Regions from separate parts of the Homo sapiens genome. Here region 2 is linked to region 1. Evidence: promoter capture Hi-C in human tissues and cell types (Jung and others, 2019). All regions are on one chromosome and are shown on one strand. Each heading gives the region's core, a stretch centred on a gene start or on the middle of the fragment in contact. The rest is flanking DNA. Distances are from core to core; before and after follow the strand shown.

Region 1 (6,704 bases), core at 1,484-3,983:
AAACCCAGAGTCTGTCTTTATATTTATGTGGTGGTTTTGCCAAGAAGTTAAAAAAAGCCTTTTGACCTGTAGAAATGTTGACCTGTATTCATACTTACTAGTGAATATCTCTAATCTGCTGTTCATTATCCATCATTCCCCCTATTTTTTTTTATTTTGGGGGGTAACAGTTGACATACACAAAACAGTTTGCCAAAAGAGAGAGGAAGAACCTTAATGTGTTTCTTGTTCTGCCACCTGTTTGGACACTTGTCTTGAAAATGTTGATGTCAAGTGAGTTGACATCAGAGACATCATCTGAAGACAGCTGGAGGCCCTGTCTTGAGGACTGTACTACCAATGCCTAAAACAGTCTGGGATGCATAGTAGATACTTAGTAAGCATGTTGAAAGAATGGACAAGAGGATGAGAATGTGGTTTAGAATCATCCCCATTGGAAAACCTCCTCAAAGGTTTTCCCAGTGGATTGGGTCATCAATGTCATTTTTCTAAGTAAAGTACTACGGACCCTGAGGAGTGTGTTCTACCCAGACTGGCTTGACTTTCTGAAGGCATCCTATAGTTACAGCCTTTAGAACAGTTGAGCTATCGGCAGCTTTAAAGAGGCTTTCAGTTTTTTTTTTTTTTAAATCATTAATGCTTTGTAGGTGACTATAGAGATTTTCATCATTTAAAAAAATTAGTTCTGGAATGAATAACCACTGGCTTAATTCAATCTTTTGCTTACCATCTTCTGAAGCTTTCCCACAGCAAAATGCCTTCTTTGCTCACAGCTAGAACCGTGGGTCTGTTTAAGTTTGGAAAGATCTTGAAAGCAGCTTGCCAAGAGGTTTTGTATGCAAGGAAGAGAAGGTGAATTAGGAAACTTTCCCAGTTTGTTTTATTCCTGAAGCTTAAGTATTGAGGCTTCCCTCAAGTATTAAGGGAAGAGAGGAACTCCAAAATGCATGATTTGATGAGTCATTGGGTTCAATTAATTTTATACTTACACTGTAACATTATTAGGATAGGGGAAAATAAGATATTTAGTACTTTTAAGAAAGATTTATTAAGTTTGGGGATAAGGTTTGCATTTTGGTCAGTATATATATGTATATATGTGTGTATATATATGTGTATATATATGTATATATATGTGTATATATGTATATATGTGTGTATATGTGTATATGTGTGTGTGTGTGTATATATATATATATATATATATATATATATATATATATGAATGGGATTCCTTCCGGTTGCATGTAAACACTCAATTTAAGAGTCTTCAGGGTAGAATTGTCATGCTAGAATACACCAGCAGGTGGCAATGTGTCCTGGTCTCATCATTAGGGAAGTGCCTTGGCTAATCTGCTTCTATTCTTTCCAAAAATAAACATTACAAAATTAGTTGGCTGTGCCTTGAACCTAAAAAATCGAGCAATAAAGAGTCGTCTCTGGTCTCTGTTTATCTTTTCCTTTTTTTCCCCCCCGTTCTAACTAACGTCAGCGTGAGCTCATGCCTCTATTCGGGGATAATGATCCTTTCATGAACTGTTGCGGAATGACTTTTTGCAACAGCATTGTTAAGAGGTAATTGTTTCCTCTCTCCACATCCACTGTTTATTAGATTTGATTTGCTACTTGGATTCCACAAAATGGCTGAAATCCCTTGTCACCAACATAGGTTTAAGCTCAAAAGTCTGAAAATAGTTGGATAAAGGGAATAGCCACTTTGGATGTTTGCAGGCAGAACTGAAGAACTGTATTACATGTGGTACCTAAATTGCCAAAATACTGAATTATTCAATCATAAAACTAGATGGGTATCTAAAGCTCTCTACCCAGTAGGGGAAAAAACCGAAAAACCGTTTGGGAATCCTTCAGAGAGAACCGTAATGCTATTTACTGGATAAATATACTTCATTTTCTTCTCCCAGTTCTTTCCACAACACGCTTGTTAAGTCGCCATGGAAAGCACCATGCTTTATCAATTTGGCAAATAACACATTTCATTTTGCCAAGGCAGAAACAGCCTAAAAGTAATATTTATACCGAGAAACCCTGGCTGCAGTCCCCAGCTGCTCTCCCGCAGCCCTGCGCCTCCGGCTCATGCAGCGCTCTCCCCCCGGAGCCGGCAGGTGCCCAGGTGAGCGGGGCCTGCGGAGGCAGCGAGGGGCGCCGGCCGGGAACCGGCAGAACGCGTGCAGCCAGAAGACAGGAGAGATAATACATTCCCTTAAGTAATAAAAGTTTCCAGGACAAGGGGGGCTGGTAATTTTCAAAGAGCCTCCCGGCACGATGTCCTCGGGATCTGGGGGGCGCTCTCGGGCGGTCTCTGGTGAAAGTCGACTTAGTACAAACTGGACTCGAAGGGGCATGTCTCGGCACTCAGGGGCCCAGGCGCCGCGGGAGGTGGGTGGGCCTCCCGGGGCTGCACGGGTCCCACCTCCCTCTGCCCCGTAGGACTACTTTGCCGCTCTCCCAAACCGGGCTCCGGCGGAGGCGTCCGTTCAAGGGCGAGAGCGCGGCCCTGAGCGGCGGAGGGATCCCGGGTGAGGCGGCTTCCCGAAGTCAGAGGGGAGGGGGCCATAAAGTCGGCGGGGGACGGGAAGCGCGAGCTCGCGCCGGACGCGGCCAGGGCCGGGAAACCAGAACCGGAACCGGAACCCGCGCGCGCGCCCGCGGTTGCGCGGCCCCCACGGCCGCCGGCCTCCTCCGCTGTCTGCGCGCGCGCCCGCGAGGGCCTCCAGAACCCGGCGAGCCGGCCCTGCGCCGGGAGACGCCGCCGCCTCCGCCTCCCGGACCAGGGCTTCCAGGCCGGGCCGGACGGGCATCTCCCGCCCCTCGCGGGGAGCGTCGGGGAGGAGCCGCCGCCTCTGGCGATTGCGGAAGAGTCCGGGCCTCAAAGGGATGGGGAGCAGTCCGCGGCGCTGAGAGACCCGGGTCCCTGTCACCTCGGGCCGCGGGACCTCTCCGCCGGCGCCAGCGGCTCGTCCCAGCACCGGGAGCCTGGTGAGGGCGGCGAGCACAGAAGGAGCCCCGGGCCCGGGACATGGAATCGCGCGAGCCCGGCGCGGGACGGCCGGAGACGCGGCCAACGCTGCGGCCACGAGCAGCCGGCAGCCCCAGATAGAGAGCCGGGAGGGAGGGCCCCGGCCCTTGCCGCGGCGGGGAGTTCGAGGCCCCGAGACTCCGGAGGAGGAGCCGACACCCGTCCGTGAGCTGATCCCGCCCCAGCCCCGGCGGGAGTCCCGGGTCCCCTTCCCACTGCGCGCGGATTTCCCTCTCTGAGGAAGTTTATCCTTGTGCCTTCTGGAGGATTTCTCTCTAGCTCGACTCACTCTGGACTGACTCGCTCCCTGGCTTTCTCAGTTCGTTTTGGGAGATAACTTGTTTTGCTCCAAGCCGCATCCGTTGACCCCTTACAGTCGGATGGTCTAGATGACTGAATGGAGTTTTGAGTTGGACTTTTGTGTCCCTGACGGAGTTGGGCCTGATCCCAGAGCACTGGGGGTGGGGAGGAGGTGTTACTGTAAAATGCAAGTTGGATAAAAGGAGGACCTCTCGCCAAGGGCCCCAATGAGTGGCACACAGTCTACTATCACCGACAGGTTGGTATGAATTCCTCCTTCGTTCGGCCTCCCGGAATCGGGCCCGACCTAGCAGGGGAGTCGGTGATTGCAGATTGCCTTTGGCCAGCGAAGTTGACAGGCAGAGGAAAGAGGGTTGTTTCGGAGCTGTGCAGTTAGCCTGGGGTTGCTGCCGAGTTATCCAGTTGATTGGCTTTTGGAAATGTAATTTTTCCGGAGAGAAACTTCCCTTCCGATTCTCAGAGAAGGGGGAGGCAAAACCATGATTGTGGTTTTCCGCCTGTAGTGTGCATTAGGATTGTGTACTCGTCTGGAAATCAGAGGAGAAGGTCATTTTAGGTGAAGGTCGGTGCCTGAAGTCGGCTCGGTATTGGTGTATTATTTATCAGCTTTAGCCGTGTCCTGCAGTAGATTCTCAAGACAATTACATTTTAGGAATTTCTACCTGTGAACTTAATGTTGAGCCTACTGCATGGTGATCTGGGAACTTGATCTCTTTCAGATGTTGACCTGCACGGTGTTTAATTATTATCTAATAACTTTCCAGAATGTTGACATTACCAGTAAATCACAGGTTCTTGCTGGAAGCAATGTCCAGGAGCTGAAGAAATGAGGGTAAATCATGGGGTTTGCTTTTAATTCTTGTATTTAAATATTTCGTCTTCCAGAAACACTTGGCGTTTAAGAGATATAAGCCGTAAGCATAGTGTAAGCGCGCAGCTGAATTTGTTGAGTTCTGTGTCTGTCCTTTATAGCACCTACCAGTGTTGCATGGTGGTGGGTGGCGAATTGAGCTAGACCATGTGTGGTTGAAGTGCAGTTTGCTTATCCTAAGTTACTCTTGTTTATAGGGTAAGGGATAAAAAGCATATTGATTCCTTGACCACATTTCATTCTCAATTTAATTATGACACTGCATGCTAGTCCCAAATTTGTCAGCTTGCTTTATTTTTAAGTCAGTCTTCGAATTATTACACCGTGAAAAAATAGATCAAGTAACTGAATTAGAGGGCCAAAGCTCTTTGATGAAAAGTGCAACAATAGTGCTTCTGCACAAAGTAGTCTTAATTTCCTAATAAGAGTTTTACCCAATTGTAAGACTCATTTGTTGATTTTAAAAGGGCCAAATTCCATTATCATACCATAACAGCTACTCCAGAAACAGAACTTCCTCTTCCTGTTGATGCTTTCCAGCATCACATGAATGTTCACTTAAAAGAGTCTGTTAAATATTTAAAGTATTTATATTTACTCTTTGTGTATTTTTCAAAGTGGGTTTTCATTTTCAATGAAATAATTTTTAACTTTTCCAAGAATACACTTAAGATAAGTATTGACAATGCTTATCTTACTTTCTTCTGGTTATCCCCATTTTTTTCCTTTCAGGGTGTTTTGCTTCTGAGAAATCACTTTTACGGGTGTGGGGATAATTGTTTTCCTGCTTCATTCAATTCTCGCTCTTTCTGTTGAGCCTGTAAACAAAAGTCTTGCTAGGAACTAATGTAATGTTGGTTTTCATTGCGATGCTGAGGTGTTTAATTTATGGAAACAGAACGGACTCATTCCACACACAAGTGAGTGAAAAGCCCTCAAGTAATGGTTTTTCTTCAGCATTGCTTCTCAGGGATTTTCCTTGTCTTCTCGTTATCTTGGAAATAGAATCTTGGAATTTGTATCCTCTTTATAACGTAGATGGCATATAAACATTCAATAAATATGAAATTACTGAAAGCCTGTTTCTTTTCTTTTTCTTTTTTTTTTTTTTTTTTGGCCAGGCACTGTGCAGGCACAAGAGATTACAAAATGAATATTGTAAGATTAATCTGCAAATTGGTTTGGGCATTAATGTTTTTTGAACTGGTTCAGGTGCTGCTGCCTAATTTTACATTTTTTTTTTTTAAAGAAAAGACCTTGGAAAGCCAATTAATAAGCACTGCTGAGACCTGTTTCGTAGGATTTTTTTTTACTAGGGTCTTTTTTTATTAAGAATTATTCTTATTTGACCACATTTAAATATATTTTGTAAATATAAAGCATCCATTTGCTGTTAAGAGAGTAGTTGTTCCTAATATGAATATATGTTGGGGTGAAATCTGGAGGTACTGGTTTAGTATTATTTCTCTGCCAAGGTGTCTTAACAAAGTTACGAGTATATAATAGTTTCTAGCTTTCTGTCAGCCCTACCTCATCCTTTTTTCGTAGTGTCTAACTCTTACTGTAGGTATATTTTGCTGACTCTAGAACTGTTGGAAAATTAACAGCACCAGTGTAGCTTTTTAGATAGAGATCCTTTCAAGTTTGAAGTGCTGTATGTGGTATGGCTTTGTTTCGTAGAGTGTGCAGAACCACCAGGCCAGCTGTGTGAGTTAGAGTTCTTTCATTGTGGTGCTTCTGACTACAGAGTCTGTCTGTCCTCAGTTGAAATCAGACTAGCTGGTTTTGGGCGTTGTTCTGTTTTGCAGTTTGTGGCAGGCGACACATGGCTGAACAAGATAAGGGTTTTATTCTTGTGTTAGGGACGTGCTGGGGCTGGGATGGAATTCAGCTATGTTTAGGCTCTGATTGGTCACTTTGGATACTCAGAACTCTGTTACATCCTGTTATTATTTTGCAGTTAAATCAACACATTAACTTGCTCTCTTCTCTTTCCCTTCATCTTTTACTCCCCAGTCCGCACCCCTTAAAACCTAAAACTCAAACTTTTTAAAAGACTTTAAACTCAAACTATGTTCATGGTAGCTATTACTTCTATGTAGTATATCCAAACAGCTTTAAAAAAAATGGTAAGCAATTTATGAGCCCTGGAGTCTGTAGTTTTCATCGTTTAGAATGAGCACTTGACAAGTGTAGAAATGTCTGATTGCTGCTTTTTAGTCTGCATTGATTGCTGCATTCAGTCTTAAAATACATCCTAATCGTTTCCAATCCTCCTACATGTCTTTCTTGTATCCCTGAGAATTTAGGGGTCCTATAGCAATTGGAATTTCTTCTGAGAGGTAGACAGGAGAGAATGCCCTTTTAGTAGACTCAGTAAATGATTTCAGGCCAGTGTCTATAACATTGAATTTTCAGGGACAGTACAGGTAGGAAAGTTATAGGGTTCTTCCTTGAAATAAATGGACTTTTGTT
Region 2 (7,414 bases), core at 3,015-5,514, 580 kb after region 1:
AGTAGGGAAGGAATCTTTCAGGGAAAAGAGCACATGTTCAAGAGGGAGGAAGACGGGAGCCCGTGAAGGCTGCTGAAAGAGAATGGGTAAAGAGGTTTTCTGCCGCTTGAAAGGAAGTACAGAAGAACATTTCCCAGGCTGAGCAATACGGGGGTCACCGGCAAATGCAGTTTCAGGGGGTGGCTGGATTGAGGTCCAATGGCAGTGATTGAATTGTGAACAAGAAGAGTGAGCAGAGGAGATGGAGACAGCAGCCAGGGAATACTCATTAAAGTCATGTAGCTTGTAAGGGAAAGCAAGGTAAAGGGTTGTAGCTAGAGGGAGCTGTGGAGATTGACTGTAAGTCAAGATGAAATCGCTTATGTAAGCAGCTGCTCAGAATTGAGAATGCTTTTCTTATGGATTGGGGAAATGCAGGGACGTTCATGTGGCTGGAGCAATATTGGAATTGGCAGTGTCAGTAAAAGGTAGGCGGGATGGAGGCTGGAGATGATGGAGCATTCAGAAAAGGGTTTTGGAGTTTTTGTCGAGATGCTAGTACTTCTTCCCACAGCTGGTATCTGGGAACCAGCACAGTCAGGCAAGTATCTGTCTGGGCATTGTCTTAACCTCTTGACATTTGGGCAGTGACTGAATGTCTATAAACTGCTTTCACAAGCATTAGCTCTTTCATCCTTTACAGCAGCACTGTGAAGTAGGTATTATTATCCCCATTTTAGAGCTAAGCAAACTGAGGTTTCAAAGAACAAAATGAACCACTGCCAGTTAGTGGCAGAGGTCTGGTGAAACTTAGGCACCTGAGACCAAGTCCATGGCAGCACACGGTCTTTCCCTGCAGAAATTACAGCCTCATCTCCCTGCAGCCACAATTGGCATTCACTTCTGAGATGTCCTTCCAGACAGAGGATGTGGAGGGTGCCCAGAATTTGATACCCAAGTTCAACTCTGGCCCATAAAGAGATTGCACTCCATCTGTAAAGTGACAGAACCAGACAGATGACTTCCAAGGCCCCTTCTGCTTGGTAGGGAGGCATTCTTGGTCAAGTACTGAGCTGTAGTACCCTGGAAGGTACAACAGCTGCATTTTCCATCCTCAGGGCCCTGCTTGGGAGAGAGTAAAGCACATTTGGGAAGAGACAGAGTCCCCCTCTAGGTTCACAGTTCAGAACAAAGTACCCCGTTGGCATTCAACTCCATGTTGGCGGAATGGCACATTTAAGTTCAAAGAGAAAAGGGCTTTGGAAGGCTTAGATTCAAGGCTCATAAGCCTTGGACATCAAATAGCTCTTACCAATGACATTTTGATGAATTAAGTGTAAATGAAGCTGAAACGCCTCATTCCATTTTTTCTCCTGGGTGCCCAGGAGAAAGGATTGTGGAGGGAGCTTCCCAGAGGCCTGGTGGGTCAGGCTGTTCGTGGCCTCAATTCACTGGGAAGGTTGTCCGGAGACATTTTGCTGAACTAAAAAAAAAAAAAAAAAATACAAGTGGTCCCCTGAGATTACTTTTCACCTTGAAGCCAGAGACTATTTTAACTACAAATAGGTCACAGAATTCTATTCAGCATTCTTTAAAATAAAGATACTGATCCAGGGGCCAAAGTGGAGTGTTCCACTCCTTCCCCGTGTGACAGCCGAGCTCAGCGAGGGCTTTGCTTTACCTTCCCCATTAAGGCTTAGTTTCTGCATTTATGCAAATCTGAAAGAGATGAGCTTCTGTTATAATTCAACCATTCATTCATTCATCAAAGTGCGTGCTGTCTGACAAGCACCGCTTGGATATGAGGAATTGCCTGTAAGGAGTTCAGGATCTACTCAAAGAGACGGACAGGTAAACCAAGAATTACTGTACAGTGTGACACATGCTATATTAATAATAGTTATAATGATGGTAATAACAGCAGCTGACAGGTATGAAGTGCTTCCTATGGGCCAGGCACTGTTCTGAGCACTTGACTGTATTAACTCAAGCCTCACAATAACTGAATGTGGCAGGTGAGGTGGCAAAACAGTTAAGGAACCTGCTCAAAGTCCCATGAGTAGTGAGTGGCAGGGGTGGCTTTGACAGAAGTTGAGCGAGGTGTGGTACAGGAGTAGGGAAGAGCTCACCAAGGAAATGACGAGTGAGCAGAGCACTGAGGATCAAGAAGGATCGCCTTGGCAGAAAAGGATATTATATTCTAGGTGAGGTGGACGGTGAGAAATGTACACTGCAGTGCCGTTGGTTCTGGACAACTGGAGCCAAGCATGAGAGGGGGTGGAGGAGAACAGGGCTGTAGGCAGGGGCCAGTCGTGATAGGGTTTATGTGTTTGGATCTTTATAAACTATGTCCAGAGCGCTAGTGGGAGCTGTCTAAGAGCAGGTGGTTTGTTTGTTTTATTCAAAGAGGGGAGTGGCATAATTGCCTTTGGTTCCAGAAGGTTACTCTAGCAGATGAGAGGGGGACGGATTGGAGGTGGGAAGACCAGATGCAGGTTTACTCATTAGACAGCTGTCCAGTGATCAGGAGAATGGAATGGGGTCTGAATTAAGCAGTGACTGTGAGGATGCCCAAGAGAGGATTATGGCTGTGTGGGGACTTCAGCATTTGAGTCTGGGACCCAGTGAGTGCAGGGAGCTCCCCTTTCCTGTAGACCTTCAAGCATGGGTTAAGGTCGTCCTGCTTCTCAGGGGAGAAGGGATTGGCTGTTTGACCCTGGGAAGGTCCTTTCTACAATGGCTCCTTGAGAGATGCATGCCACATAGCGATCCCTGCATGCAACCCACTGAGACCTGGGAAGGGAGGAAATCCATCTTCTCCAGCTCATTATTCACAGACAGGTGTACTTGAAAATAAAGGGGCCAGCGCGCTGGACTGCACCTTAGCCACAAACATGTTCATGCACTCTCTCCACAACACTCTGCTTCATTGTGAGTTCCCAAAAGGTTCTTTTCTGTCAGTAGGAGTCCTTTCACTCACCTGAGAAAAGGGCAATAATGGCAGTTTCGTGACTGCAGCCGCCCTTTTTTTCTTCTGAGATGTCTGTATCGGCTGCCAGGCTGCGGCTGGGCTCTCCCATCTCATCTCCCTCTCTCCCTCTGATGGCCTCCCTCTCCTCCATTCAGGAGTGAGGTGCGCACACCCCAGAAGATTGCCGCTGGGCCTCTGGAGCCGCAGCTGCCAACCGTGCGAGCCCAGCCAATGCCCTACCTGCGCTCGGTGGAGGGCTCTGCTGTGGCTTTCTGATTTGCCCTGTCCTCTGGCTTCCCTTGGCTTATAGGGGGTCTGAATGGGGATCTCATGTGCTCCAGACCCTTGCTCACATGTCTTCCTAGTTCAAAGCCGAGCCACCAGGAGGGAAGGGAGTAGAAGCAGGGTGCTATAACTCCTGACAAGGCCAGACACCATGTAGAAGCTCTACACTCATGAGTTAATTTGATCCTTACATGACCCATGAGACAGGAATTATTACTCTGTTCCACAGATGAGGGCACAGAGGCTTGGAGAGTTCCATAATTAATCCAAGCTCAGACACACAGCAAGTGGCCAGAGCCCAGACTCAGACCCCAATCTTGGGCTCTTCTCACTGCACCAAAGGGGCATGTGAGAACTGGTGTCTGGAACAAAGGATGACTTGGGTGGCATCGTCTTGTTCTCTGCATCAGCCTCCTAGAAGAATGAGGAGGAAGGAATAAGTTGGCCCAGGAGAATGGTAAACAAGGAGGTGGCTCTGAGTGGCCAGTTTGACAGGGACATTTGGCTGACACTTCTGTCCTCAACCCTCTTATCTGGAAACTGGACTTCTTATGACCACCTCGTTTTTCAGACTAAGAAAACAGAGCCCCAAGAAGCTAACGCCCAGGAGTGCTAGGAGTTGAAGTCAGGTCCTTTTCCTCTAGGAGCCTTTCAGCTAAAAAGGCAGACAGATGCGAGCAGAAGTTATTTTAATGAGGTCATACAGGATAAGTGCTGTATTAGACATAGCAAAGTACATCGTAAATGACTAGGAAGGTAGGGGCAGAAATGACTTCTGAATCGGGACAACCAGGATGGATTCCTAGTGGAAGTAAGACTGGCAACTCTTTGAAGGAAAGTACAATGTCTTATGCATCTTGACATCCTTATGCACCTAACACAGTGCCTGAAACACGGTGAAGTGGTAACATAGGTAATACTAGGAATCTCTAGTCTGAAAATCCAAAATCTGAAATGCTCCAATGTCTGAAACTTGTTGAGCTTCGATGTGATACCGCAAGTGGAAAATTCCACACCTATCCTCATGAAGGGTCGTAGTCAAAAACAGTCAAAACTTTGTTTCATGAACAAAATTATTTAAAATATTGTATGAAATTACCTTCAGGCTACGTGTCTAAGGTGTCTATGAAACAGAAATGAACTTCGTGTTTAGACTTGAGTCTCATTCCCAAGATACCTCATTATGTTTATGAAAATATTCCAAAATCTGAAAAAGTCGGAAATTCGAAACACTTCTGGTCTCAAGCATTTCAGATAAGGGGCGCTTGCATTCCCCTAGGGAGTGCTTCCTTCAGCAGGTTTGCATCAACCCAAGGCTTAGAAAGCCAGGCTTTCCGGCCAGGTGTGGTGGCTCACGCCTGTAATCCCAGCACTTTGGGAGGCCGAGGCGAGCGGATCACCTGAGGTCAGGAGTTCGAGACCAGACTGGCCAACATGGAGAAACCTCGTCTCTGATAAAAAATACAAAAATTAGCTGGGCATGGTGGCGCATGCCTCTAATCCCAGCTACTCAGGAGGCTGAGGCAGGAGAATTGCTTGAACCCGGGAGGCGGAGGTTGCCGTGAGCTGAGATCATGCCATTGCACTCCAGCCTGGGTAACAAGAGCGAAACTCCGTCTCAAAAAAAAAAAAAAAAAAAAAAAAAGAAAGAAAGAAAGAAAGAAAGAAAAAAGAAAGAAAAGAAAAGAAAGCCAGGCTTTCCATTTATGAATCAATCAGCAGACAGTGATTTAACACCTATGTGCCAGTCACTGTGCTGGGGTGTGGGGTAAAGGAACAGATCAGGTTTGGTTCTGTCTCTGAAAGCTTACAGACCGGGCGGTAAAAGGCAAGGGGGGCACAGGCATGTAAGATAATAAAGTGTAGGTGTGAGTACATGGCTGGGAGCCCCGAGCAGGGCAGGACTAAGGAATGACATCGGAGCGTCACCCGTGCAGGTGCGCTGCTTAAATCCCTGTCTCTGGGAGAGCAGTCTCCAGGCCCAGAGACAGTCAGCCACAGATTTGAAACAGACTTCAGAATTTTCCCCGCCCATCCTCAGATCCCTGTGCTGGTTATTTTCCATGGAAGGAGTTGCCCGGGGGGATCTGGAAGGGTTTGGAGTTCAGTTAGGTTCAGTGCTCCCTTAGCAGCTTCCTACTGGGAGCTCCTTCAAACCCCATTGGGCATCTCAAAGCAGCCTGGGAAACTTATCAGTTCTTGGGAATTATTTCCACCTTCCCCACTGAGCGCCAGCTGTTAAGGGGAGTGAAGGGTCTGCAAAGGAAATGAAAATGTATTAATTAAGGCATCTGAAAGCCTTCTAAGAGATCAGCTTGCTGCTAAGCAGAAGAGACAGGTGGTAGGGAATTGATTTGGGTCAGAGACAGGAAAGGAAGCTACAGACAATGTGATCTTAATGTCTTCTAAGAATTCTCTAGTCTCGATTCCCCAGCCACACAGCAGAGATGAGGATGTTACCTGTGGGCTTGGCCAGACACCAGACTCTGGTCTGAGACCAGGGAGGCTTTCAGGAGCTCCAGTTCAGCACGCAGGGACCAAGCCTCCTCTGCCTTGCTCTCCTTCCCACCCAGACTGAGAAATCCAGCTTCTGATGATTCCCCAAGCCTAAGTCTCTGAGCTTGCCAAACTGGTTCTCTCACTCCCCTTCCCCTCAGGAGTAAGAATCCTATTCCTGAACCCGGGGTGACAACCCTATTGACCCATTCTGATGTACTTACCATCCTCAGCCAGTGGTGCCTGCCTCTAGATGCATTGATTCCATATTGGTTGTGCCTTCAGCTTTTACTTTCATAGAGTTCACACAGTTTTTACTTTCATAGAGTTCACATCCTGTATACATAGGACCTCCATGTATGGTTTGTGCAGGTTAAGACATGGTGAAGGAGGAATGGGGTGTGAAACCCAGCCCTCACTCTGCTCACCAAACACGTGCTCTGGGATGGGGGGGTATCTACTTGTCGATTTTTTTCCTACAAAAATGCCTTTAGCTTGCCAAGGCATGTGCCCACTAAGTCTGCTCAGAGGGCCAATCTTTATAATTCATACAACGTCCCCAACTGTACTGGGAATGAGACCCGGTGTATAAGTTAGTTTGAGACGTTAGCATGTGATATATACAAAAGGGAATCCTACGCAAAATGGTATGGGAGCACAGAGAAGGAGGGAAGCATTTCAGCCGGAGGAAGCCAGGCAAGGCTTCAGAGCAGAGCTAATGAGAATTGTCGCCAGTGTTTATTGAATACCTACTACCTGCCAGGCATTTATCATGCATCATTTCCTCTCCACATAACAATCTTACGTGATAAATATTATTATTCATATTTCATAACCAAGATGCCAAGGTTGACTTTGGCTTAACAGAGAAGGCCAAATCAGGGTCACACAGCTAACAAGTGATTGATCTGGAATTCAAAGCCAAACCTGTCTGACATCAAAGCCCACGGTCATTCTAACCACTGCAATGCCTCTCAGGGAAGTGCCGTCAAGTCAGACCTTGATAGACAAGTAGGAATTTGACAGGCGACAAGGAGGAGAGAGTTGCCGGCAGAGGGAACGGTGTGAGGTCTGAAATGTATGCCAAGTTTAAGGAACATGAAGAGTGCATTGTGTCCACATCGCAGGCTGAAGAGAGGTCAGCAGCTTAAGGTGATGCTGAAGAGGCAAGCCTCAGCTGGGTGGTGACAATCACTTAGACCATGGGAAGGAGCTGGGACTCCATTTTAAAGAGAGTGGAGAGTAACTGGAGTTTTTAAAGAAGATGAGTAATATTAGATCTTTGGTGTAAACTTTAGAGCAGCGGTTCTCAAAGTATTGTCCTTGAACGAGTAGCATCAGCAACACCTGGGACTTGTCAGAATCCCAATTCTGGGGCCCCATCTAGACCTACTTAACCTGAAACTCTGGGGTGGGACTCAACAATTTGCAACTTAACAGGCCCTCCAGGTGGTGCTGATTCGAGCTTAGGTTTGAGAACCACTGATTCCCAATGCTGCTTGAGTCTCAGCTGAGTGGATGGATGGCGTGGGAAAGAACTGGAAGCAAAGAGACCAGTGCAGAAGCTACTGAATAATTCAAAGGAAGGCTTTAATGATGGTAGGGGCAGTGAGAGTCAAGTGGTGGTGATGGATTCAACAGGCGTTTCAGAGGTAAAAGGGATGGGGCCTGGTTATTGAATGG

Evidence for each region. The method cuts DNA at HindIII sites, captures the fragments that hold promoters and counts their contacts. A contact is called where the count stands out against the background at its distance.
Region 2: a contact is called between a fragment that was not itself captured here and the fragment with the promoter of ARHGEF12 in region 1, in 1 of the 25 tissues and cell types used here (lymphoblastoid cells).

What each region holds. Positions count from the first base shown.
Region 1 is chr11:120,333,680-120,340,383 of GRCh38, forward strand. ARHGEF12 (Rho guanine nucleotide exchange factor 12) reads left to right here and starts at 2,734. Exons shown (of 41, transcript NM_015313.3): 1 at 2,734-3,596. The coding sequence starts at 3,565. It overlaps TLCD5 (TLC domain containing 5), which reads left to right. Exons shown (of 3, transcript NM_001198671.2): 3 at 1-7. RefSeq lists a silencer at 2,321-3,190. The HindIII fragment of the contact is 7,839 bases long and covers 107-6,704 here.
Region 2 is chr11:120,912,393-120,919,806 of GRCh38, forward strand. The region is part of intron 13 of GRIK4 (glutamate ionotropic receptor kainate type subunit 4); the gene reads left to right. Among named protein-coding and RNA genes, the nearest start is that of TBCEL, 110 kb to the right of the region's middle. The HindIII fragment of the contact is 5,965 bases long and covers 1,283-7,247 here.